Linked DNA regions of Homo sapiens: region 2 is linked to region 1. Evidence: promoter capture Hi-C in 16 types of primary human blood cells and fetal thymus (Javierre and others, 2016). All regions are on one chromosome and are shown on one strand. The core of a region is centred on a gene start or on the middle of the fragment in contact, and the rest is flanking DNA. Distances in the headings are between cores, read along the strand shown.

What was found. The method cuts DNA at HindIII sites, captures the fragments that hold promoters and counts their contacts. A CHiCAGO score of 5 or more calls a contact.
Region 2: a fragment that was not itself captured here is called in contact with the fragment with the promoter of WDR44 in region 1 in 1 of 17 cell types (activated CD4 T cells); the score reaches 5.8 in activated CD4 T cells.

What each region holds. Positions count from the first base shown.
Region 1 is chrX:118,343,052-118,348,528 of GRCh38, reverse strand. It overlaps WDR44 (WD repeat domain 44), which reads right to left and starts at 2,423. Exons shown (of 20, transcript NM_019045.5): 1 at 1,949-2,423. The coding sequence starts at 2,025. RefSeq lists enhancers at 1-252, 1,748-2,291, 2,833-2,882, 3,073-3,192. The HindIII fragment of the contact is 5,332 bases long and covers 250-5,477 here.
Region 2 is chrX:118,978,271-118,983,747 of GRCh38, reverse strand. It overlaps LONRF3 (LON peptidase N-terminal domain and ring finger 3), which reads right to left. Exons shown (of 11, transcript NM_001031855.3): 2 at 5,285-5,403; 3 at 805-927. Among named protein-coding and RNA genes, the nearest start is that of LONRF3, 6.4 kb to the right of the region's middle. The HindIII fragment of the contact is 307 bases long and covers 3,322-3,628 here.

The sequences.
Region 1 (5,477 bases), core at 1,174-3,673:
AAACTGACCCTGTAGTTTTATCCATAGAACTCAACACACTTAGTAATTGGGCAGGTTAAAGTTAAAATTAGAAAGCTGAGTTCCAAAAAAACCTTTTTCAGTTTTCACCTAATATCAGAGGATCAAAGTGCTTGAGAAGCTGTATTATCTCATGAGGGAAGAAGTGACTCTATCAATTCTATCAAAATGACTCATCCGGTTTAGATAAGTAAAATAGGTCCAAGTTCTATATATCTCCCAAAATAAGCTTTGTGTAAAGTTAACAAATTTGCCAATGCCAAGAAAGGAAGGAGAAAAGCATGAACATTTTGAATGCTTTCTCTGTGCCCAGGTACTGGACTAGACAGTTTACACAGGTCCTGATATAACTTGCGTCCTTTGAAATTAAACTTATTCAGTGGAAAGAACAATATCCACAGAGTAGTTCTAAACTGATCAGCTCATAAACTGATGATTTCCCTCCCCCACCCCAATACACACACACAAAAGTACCAAAGGACTTGGTGTCTCATTCAATCTGAATTGTCAGTTCATTACTTTGAAGGGAAAACCACACACACAAAAATTAAGTTTCACGGAAGTCCAATACATTTCAAAACCCAAATGTATTTCCTATGCTCTACACCTAGCTCTAAACTTGTCTCAGATATTGAACTTGAAGGAGATTCGGTGTCATCTCAAGATTGGCCACTGCCACCCCAAAATCCCACAACAGTGACATGAAGGTTGGTGGAAAGACAAACATCTGAAATCTACCAACGTACATTGCTTTCTGATTTTATTACTGTAACTTTTTGGTGCATATTGTGTATAAACATACATTAGTTTTTAGAATGACTTCTAGCATGCATGGCTAACTATACTTGCATCACAGCGGGTTATTACTCCCACGGAGTAAGTGTGAGAATTGAAGGCAGTGAACTTCTCGAACCATATTAGTCCTTTATACTAACATCTACATTTTACCAATCCTCAAGTTCTTACAGCATGAAAATATATTTCACTGCCTCTATTTCCACGTACATTCGTAGGGGAGTTCGGCGAAATCGCTTTAAAGCACTACCCCAACTTTGAAAAGTGGAGAAGTGGGTAAGTAAATACAAGTCCTAGTCAAGCGAGCATTCCAACTACTGTACTTCCTATTCAGAATCACCCATATTAATCACCACTAAAACATCTTGCAGAATTAGATAAAGAACACAAAGCTGGGGCTCTCCTTCCAATCACCAGATTACTCAGCACTTGTTTGTCCCTCTGCAGTCAGTTGTGCACATTTCTTCTGTCTGGCCATCCTTTTAGACCGCATTCTGCCTAATAGGGACCGTGTATTCGATTTCCTTTACCTCACGATAAGGTGTTATTTTAATAAAACACTGTTGATCTAGAGTACATTCGCTAGAGGACTTTCTTAAGCAAATACCCAACCTTCCCCCCGCTCCTTTTCGCTGTGTGCAAGAAAAAGAGGACGGCAAATAGGGGAGAGTTACAGCCACCTCTGAAGTGAATAGGTAAGTTAGCGGTAAACGGGAGAATAAAAAACTACAAGTTACATTTCTCCTGTTACTGCTCCTTTAATCTACGGTCCCCGAGGCCAAAACGGATGTTTGAAAGGTAAGCTCAGAACCCCACAGATACAAATCTCCGACTCAGGCACGTAAGCTGTTCCCCCTCACAGAAGGCTGGATCAGAAGAGAAACGGGCTCCGAGACCGACCCTGGGACCGTTCAGTAGGGAAACGGCCGGGAGGCTGCCCGAGGTGGCTGACTCCCCCTTCTCCGAGTCACCCCGCCCTAAGAAGCCCCAGGTCTGGGTTCTGAAGTCCTCCAGTGAGACGGGGAGGAACAGCGGTGGCGGACACAGCGGGACCTGGGAGGGGTGTAGGGGGAAGACACAGGAGATGCGGGGGGCTTGGGATGCCCGGCTTCCTGTCATAGCTGCAGTCACTTACCCCACGGGGTAGCCGCCCCCTAGGTGCACATCTTCAGGGGCATCATAGAATTCCTCGGTGTCGCTTTCCGACGCCATTTATAGGACACACCCGCGGGTGAGGGGGCCGGCGCCGCCTGGAGGAAGGGTGACTCTTGTCTCCTCCTCGTCGACCTCCACCCGGGCGAGACTGGGGAAGTGGGTCTCGGGCGAGGCTGAGGGAGCAGACGATCTGTAGCGAGGAGACTGTTAAGGAAAGGGGGCCGCCCTCAGTTGCCGGGCTTCGGGAATGACCGGCAAAGCGGCCGCCTGAAGAGGCGGCGGTTGGTCCAGGGAATGTTGCTGCCACCGCTCCCAGTGATAGGTGTATAAGGAGCGCGAAAGAGGCGGTGGCTCCTCGCAGTAAGGGAAGAAGGGCGCGCCGGCTACAGCGGCTCCAGTTTCTCCCGCAGCAGCAATTTACAGCAGCTGGAAGAGCTAGTTGCCCGCAAAATACCGACGCGCACCTACCCTCGCGAGATTTCGGAGGGGCGGTAATACGTGGGCGGGGCGAAGAGGTGGCGGGGGCGGTTCCAGAGAGGCAGCGCTCCGATTACTTCGGCCCGAGAAGCCTATCAAAACGGCGCAAGCGCGTTGAGGGCGTTCGGTGAGGGCCGGAAGTAGCCGAGAAGGGAGGGGGTGAGCCTCCCGAAGGGAGGAGTCTAGGACCTGCGCAGGAGCAGCGTGGTGCCCTGGCTCTGAGAGCGCGCGGCCGACGTAGGTGGGGTCAGGCAGAAAGTCTTACTCCCTAACTCTGCAGTTCCAAAGAGACGCGTTTTGAGAGGGGTGATTTTGAGTCGGTCTTTTACTTGTAAAGAAATACTCTCGGGAAACGTTGGTGTGGACATTTTGGCGTATATTTACGATGTCTTACTATCCAAGCCCGGAATGTCCCACCCTAGGGCGTCGGCAGGTCCACCACCTCTGGCGTTACGAGAATAACTCGCCCTTATTCACTACGAGATCTCTAATTGAGATCCCTAGATATGATCCTGCCGGCCAGAGGGTGGGGTCCTTGAGATATACACGGGGAGTGTGCCAGTTCCATGGTGTAATGATGGATTTATTGCTGGAGCTGAGCCAGTATTAGGCCTCCGGTTACTTTTTCTCCGCACATGTCTGTCGCTGCCAACACAGTGTGAGAGAAGTTCTTACATACTGCCCAAGATGTGCGTCAGCTAAATGGTAAATATTTATTGAGCAGATATCATTGCAAGCCTACGAGCTAATGGCTTAATTCTGATCCTCAACTGCCCAGCGTCCGGTGATAAAAATAGAAAGGTACTTTTTAAAAAACCGAGATGTTCCTTCTTAAACCACGGGTCATTGACCATCAAGGTGATAACATTGACTTTCAGTATGATCACACAGCATATTTATTTCTCCAACTGACATCATGATAGGCATTTTGAGCTGTTCGTGCAGCCTCAATTAGTATTCAAGAAAAGGCTGGATTGGAGCCAGGGGTATGGTCTCAGAGAAACTGGAAAGGGGCTCTAGACTTTGTCAAGCAATCAGGGCAAGGTCTGCTGTGGTCTAGTGGACTTGGGTAAAAACCAAATGTCATATACTGTATATTCTATAATACCCCAGGGAGTTTAGGGAAAACACTGCGTAATCAAATATATTAATATTTTTGCAGCAAGATATATGATTGTTCATACGGGATAAATAAATACAAGTAAATAGCCTCATTCAGTTTGAGTCAGACGCTTCTGCCAAATAAGTTTAAGATAGATCTATTTGACTGTCAAATAAATTACTAAAAAAAAAAAAAAACAGAAACTTGGTTTCCAGAGCTTTTGAAGTTTCAGAATTGGAGACAAGGGATTTGTGGATCCTTGTGAGGGTATGACTTTTGTCAAACCTAAAAATTATTAGGTTTTATGTGTCTTAAACATGTTAATTAACTTCCTAGGTATAAAAATGTAACTCAAAGTACTAACTTTTAAAAACGTTTTGCTCACTAAGATAGGTTTTTTTGTTTTCTTTTTGGATTATGGAAAGATACCAGATATAAGGTAGGGAAATATATATTTATGGAAAGATGTTAACTACCTGAATGTATTCTCTTCCTAGATATCTAATAGTGAATTTATGGCTTCCAAAGAAAAAAAAGTTAGTTTTCTCTATATGATAGAGGTGTTAGTTCCAGGCGCGGTGGCTCACGCCCGTAATCCCTGCACTTTGGGAGGCCGAGGCAGGCGGATTTCTTGAGCTCAAGAGTTTCAGACCAGCCTGGGCAACATGGTGAAACCCTGTCTCTACAAAAAATTCAAAATTTAACTGGGTGTGGTGGCATGTGCCTATGGTCTCAACTACTGTGGAGGCTGAGGTGGGAGAATCGCTTGAGCCCAGGAGGTTGAGGCTACAGTGAGCTGAGATAGCACCACTACACTCCAGACTGGGCAGCAGAGCCACACCCTGTCTCTCACACACACACACAAAAAACAACAGCAACAACAAAAACAAAATGCCGTGTGTGGAAACCAGTCGCTCAGTTCAGTAAACATATACAATTTGGTGTCATGAAGCGTTCTAGATGCTGAGGACAATTGACAGATTAAAAAGACAACTAGATCCGGCGCGGTGGCTCACACCTGTAATCCTAACACTTTGGAAGGCCGAGGTGCGCAGATCACTTGAGGTCAGGAGTTCGAGACCAGTCTGGCCAACATGGCAAAATCCTGTCTCTACTAAAAATACAAAAGTTAGGGGGGCGTGGTGGCACTTGCCTGTTGTCCCAGCTACTCGGGAGGCTGAGGTAGGAGAATTGCTTGAACCTGGGAGGCGGAGGTTGCAGTGAGCTGAGATCCCGCCGCTGCATTCCAGCCTGGGCGACAGAGGGAGACTCTGTCTCAAAAACAACAACAACAACAACAACAAAAACAAAACAGAAAAAGACAACTTAAGTTTCTGCCTACAAAAAGCTAATAATCTAGCAGTGGAGACAAATACGGAGTCCTAGTTTGGTGCTCTGTTTTTTTTCAATATACCATATCAGCTCTCTTGGACCTTTTAAGCTGCCTTAAACATTATACTTAGAAAAAGGTAAAATGGATAGGAATGATAAACTGGTAACATTTTTAGAGCTTTTAAAGTTTCCGTTTAAATGCTTTTATCAATTGCATGAGAAAGCCAATTGCTAGAATGAATTGCTGGAAACGTTAAAACACATATAAATACTGCCCATCGTCACTTTTTTTTGTTTTTTTTTTTTTTGAGATGGAGTCTCGCTCTGTCGCCCAGGCTGGAGTGCAGTGGCTCGATCTCTGCTCACTGCAAGCTCCGCCTCCCGGGTTCACGCCATTCTCCTGCCTCAGCCTCCCGAGTAACTGGGACTACAGGTGCTAGCCACCACGACCGGCTAATTTTTTTGTATTTTTAGTAGAGACGGGGTTTCACCGTGTTAGCCAGGATGGTCTCGATCTCCTGACCTCTTGATCCGTCCGCCTCGGCCTCCCAAAGTGCTGGGATTACAGGCGTGAGCCACCGCGCCCGGCCCCATCATC
Region 2 (5,477 bases), core at 2,226-4,725, 630 kb before region 1:
TAAGGCTCCGCGGTGAATAGTGGGTGGGGCACAAGGAGAGCAGAGACAACCGCCAACTGTCAGAATCCAACTTACAGGCCGATTACCCAGACACCAGCAGAGTAAACTGTAGAACAATAAGCAACAAAGTCCATGAATTGAAGATGGCTGAGCCTTCACTAATGCTCTCAGTATTTCACACCATTTTTCTTTTATAACTACCACATTCTGCTGGGACCCAAGAGTTGGAACGACTGCTTGCATTATATTGTAATGGTCTCTGACTAGCATTTGTGAGGCAGTGTGTTTTATTTCTAGCAAAGGAGCTGAAGGTTGGAGTTCTGTGTATGGTGATAGGGGAGGTGGGGACCACCAACGTCCCTTCCCAGGGGCTGGCTGTCATGTGTGGCTGGTGAAAACTGTGATTCAGCCAAAGAAAAGTTATGTAACAGCAGGTAGCCCCATGCCCTGGATCTCTCATCAACAGCCAGAATGTCCTCAGTGAGCCTCAATCCCCATATTAATGTACTTGATTTTGGTTTTTCTCCCACTGACAATCCAGACCCTGAGTCAAAGAAGCAAGAACATTCCTCACAGGCTCCTACAAAAATGTAGAAACTGCCCAAACTGATCGTACACACCAGAAGGACGGTGTTTCTGGGCAATCAATTAACACTCCCATCTCCCTTTTGTCCCCTTAACCCAGGGAACCACCCACTCAGGACCCCAAATGCCAAGGAGGACAGCACCCTCACTCCCCTTCCTAGATAAGACAGAGAGGGGAGGGTCCAGTAGGCAGCTGGACCTGATGTCATTTCAACTCACTCTTTGGGCTTCACATCTTGCTCTCTTGTTCTTTCCATCAAGGGATACACAGTAGAGAAACTCCCTTAGTGCCTCCTCCACCTTGCCTAGGGTGGCTAAGGCTTGGGCTTTTCTGAAATGTGCCTGGAAGGAAACATTAGCATTCAATCCCATTTTATTCAGCCTATTAACACTACTGCTCTAACAATAACTAACCCACAGCACTCACTGTTGTGTGAAACATTTTAAAAGGACTCTCTTATCTACAGCCCTAAAATGCGGGCAACTGTTCTAATGCCATTATAAAGAAGACAAAACTGAAACCCAAAAACGTTAACTTGCCCAGTGTAACACAGCTGGTAAATTGTGGAATCAGGGTTTGAACCTGGGACTGACTGATACCAAAGCCTGTATTCTTAACCACTCTGCCATACTACCTTGTCTCTGCCCCACCATTGTACGGAGTGACCATCAAATGTAGCAAGAACCCCCATTTGACCACATGCTAACCAGCTTTCAGGGCCTGCCCAGGTATGCGTTCGTTTGAACTAGTCTCTCAAGCAGAGAACCAGTCCTCAGTAGTGGCTTGAAAGAGCACCTACACTAACTGATCAGTTTTCAGAAGAGGCCCAGGAGAAGGGATCTGACCTCTCCAAGACCTCAAAGGTCGCTAGTGGCAAAGCTGGAACTAGAACTGCAGTCTCAGGACTCCCAGAATGCTCTTCTCCACAAAGCAGACTGCCCTTCAGAGGGCTAACCAGGGGCTGAGCTTACTCTCCTAGGGGCCTGGATCACTTCTGCTCCCTCACCACATACTTTAGAAAGTATAAAGAAGTTTATGGCTCCTCAGGGCCCAAGCCCAACTGCTCTGGGAAAGACACTCTAGGGAGGGCAGAGGAACATCCTGGGGAAGAAGGAAGAAAAAAGAGTAGCGGGGGAGAGGGCTGCCCTCTGTGTGTGTCTTGAGACAGGTGGACACTAGCAACTTGGCTTGAAGAGCATTTCACTTGAGTCATCTAGGACGTCCCTCCACCCAGTGGCCTGCTCCCTTGCCTCCTCCATTGGCAGTACTAAGCCTAACTTAGTGAATGAAGTGATCCAGGTTGTGGCTGCTGGATACTCCCCTGCCCCCCTTTCTAACATGCCTCTTTGCAGGCCCCAGAGCCCTCAGGCTATGGCCTCGCTGCAGAGGCTGCCCTGAAGCTGCCTTCTTGAGCAGTGGCCCCTGCTCCAAACCTCTTGAAGACCTTTCCGCATTCCCCCAGCTCCTTCTGAAGCCTTGTCTTGGCTGATACATGGATGTTGATGGCCTCCCTTGTTGCTTCTCCCAGCAGTGTTTACCAAGGGTGTTTGGGAAAGGCTTGCATGATATCACAGGGCAGCTAGAGGGGAGAAGTGTTGGGAGACTGGAAAGGCCTCTGTGTGATCCCACTAATCATATTATCAAGTAGCAATCCATATACTCTTTTTTTTTTTTTTTTGAGATAGAATCTTGCTCTGTCACCCAGGCTGGAGTGCAGTGGTGGATCTCGGCTCACTACAACCTCCACCTCCTAGGTTCAAGCGATTCTCCGGCCTCAGCCTCCTGAGTAGCTGGGACTACAGGCATGCGTCACCATGCCTGGCTAAGTTTTGTATTTTTAGTAGAGATGGGGTTTCACCATGTTGGCCAGGCTGGTCTCAAACTCCTAACCTCAAGTTATCCACCTGCCTCAGCCTCCCAAAGTGCTGGGATTACAGGAGTAAGCCACCATGCCCGGCCAACCCATATACTCTACCTGCTCAGGGCAACCAGCTCACACCACTGAGAGCTGTATCACCTGCAGGATGTGCTGAGTACCACACACTCTGGTTGGATGGCTGGAATAGAGAATAGGGCTGCCAGATAAACCCCTACACTTGGGGCATTTTACATAGAAATGTTGGGAAATATGCAAATCAGGGTGGGAGGTGGTTTTGAATTATAGGCATCAGTTCGTCTTCTCTTAACCTCCAAGAAAATAAATTATCTCATCACTGCCCCCACCTCTCACTTCATCACTATGGGGAAATGAAACTCCTATTTAATACTTTCATCAACTCTTCCTTCACTGGAGAAGTCACTTTTCCCATTTCATCCAAAATGCTTCACTGCTTCTCAGCTCTGCTTCTCACCACACTATCAAGTTCCTTAGCCCTAGGATCTAGGCTTAGGGTGGAGGTGGAAAGAGTTGCAAGTCCTCTTACTCCTAGGCAGCTCCCTGACTTGCACTACTGGGAGGCTGAAAGTGCCCCCACTAAAGCTCCTTTGGGTTAAGACACTGGTGACTTGTATTAAACACTAAATGTGTTCTTTGGGGAAAAAAAACCATACTAATCCATCATTACTCAAGAAAACCTTCTCAGAAAAAAAAATGAATCCATCATCACTCATGAAAACCTTCTCAAGAAAGAACATACAAGATTCACCTGACATTCATTGCACAGTACACAGGTCCACATGCTTTATCTGGTTTCCAGATCCAAAAAAGTTCTGATAATCCATTATTTTCATAAGCTTGACATCAAAATTCATTAGATGGCAAAACCTGACCTAAACTGATATAAAGTGTTTAAAAATATTTGTCCCACTGAGTGTGAATTTTCATGGAATCTGCTGAATAGTGTGTTGGATTACAGGAAGCTGTCCAGAGCTCACTGAGACCTAATATATGGTCCTTGCAAAATATAAAACATTCTGGATTCTGAACACCTCTGGTCTTACAAGATTCAGATAAGGGATCATGGACTTGAACTTGGATACATTGGTTTTCTGAGGAAGGCATCCTTGGGTTGTGTAGAGACAGAGCACTACATCCAGGAAGCTTTATAGCTTGCAGAATGTCCTCTTGGCCACGTTCACTTTTGACCCTCATTGCATCATTGCGAGGCAATCAGGGCAGATATCAATAGCTTCATTTTGCAAACAAGGATACTTGGGGTTCAGAGAGTGAAGCCACCTCCCCATGGTTTGCAAGTAGTAGAGCACAGGCTCAAATCTAATCTTCTAAACAAAGTACTGACATGTGGCTGAGGGCCAGTCCTGAAGCCAGGCAAAGATACAGAAAGTGACACTTTGCATCCTGGCATCCTGAGAGGTGTCCAGGCCGTTTTTCTTCTCACCCCCCATGTGACCTAAATCCTTGGGGATACTGGCAGGCTGACTGACTATATTAAGGACTTGAAATGGCACAACCATTGTGTGAGTGTGAGGATCCCTTCAGAGAAAACTGGCCAAGCTGCCAAGGAGCCTATCAGTAGAGGTTCAGGAGCACCAGGGCAGCAACACCACTCTCACCTTCCTCTTTCTAATGTCCCTGGAAAATGATAAAAATGGCGATAGAAAACATTTATATAGGCTGGACACGGTGGCTCACACCTGTAATCCCAGCATTTTGGGAGACTGAGGCAAGTGGATTGCTTGAGGCCAGGAGTTTGAGACCAGCCAACATGGCAAAACCCCGTCACTACTAAAAATACAAAAAATTAGCCGGGCATGGTGGCACACGCCTGTGATCCCAGCTACTCGGGAGGCTAAGGTGGGAGACTCACTTGAACCTGGGAGACGGAGGTTGCAGTGAGCTGAGATCACGCCACTGCACTCCAGTGTGAGTGGCAGAGTGAGACTCCGTCTCAAAAAAAAAAAGCCAGCGCGGTGGCTCACGCCTGTAATCCCAGCACTTTGGGAGGCCAAGGCGGGCGGATCATGAGGTCAGGAGATCGAGACCATCCTGGCTAACACGGTGAAAACCTGTCTCTACAAAAAAAAATACAAAAAATTAGCCAGGTGTGGTGGCGGGCGCCTGTAGTCCCAACTACTCAGGAGGCTGAGGCAGGAGAATGGCGTGAACCCAGGAGGCGGAGGTTGCAGTGAGCCGAGATTGCGCCACTGCACTCCAGCCTGGGTGCGAGAGGGAAACTCTGTCTCAAAAAAAAAAAAAAAAAAAAGAAAGAAAACAGAAAGAGAGAGAGAGAGAAAGGAAGGAAGGAAGGAAGGAAGGGAAGAAAGAGAACGTTTATATAGTGCTACATGCCAGACACTGTTCTAAGTACCTTACATTATTAGCTTATGTAATCCTCACAACAGCCCTCTTTAGTAGCTGCTTTGAATATCCCCCATTTAACAGATGAGGAGATGAAGTACTGGGAAGTTAAGTCATTTGCCCAGGGCCACAAAGGTCATAAAAGTTAGCAGAGTTGGGACATAAACCCAGGCAGTCTGGCTCCCAAGTGCATATTCTAGAGAGTCACTATGCCCAGGCTGCTCTGAAGGTCATGAGTTGAAGACTGAATTGGGGAAGAATCCAGCTCCCTTGCAGACCTGAGTCACTCTTTGCCCAGGGATCTTTACCCTGGCTCCTTTGCAAAGTCTTCTTCCTGTTCTGCTTGAGCTCTAGTGCCCCTATGCTCCAGGGAGGCAGCCCTTCCTGCCAATACCTGTCTACAGTACAACCCCTTCCCACCTCTTCCATCCCACACTCACCTTAAAACCCATCGGGCGGAGCTTACATGCTATTTCTGCATCATGCAGTGCATTCTCATGAGACTCCAAGGTGAAATAAATCTGAGACCGATTGCTATAAAGCAAGTGGTCATTTGGAGCTGTCAAAATAAGAAAGAAAAACCTTTATTAATGGCCCCCAGCGCAAGCAGGTGTTAAGTCCTGTATGAGTATG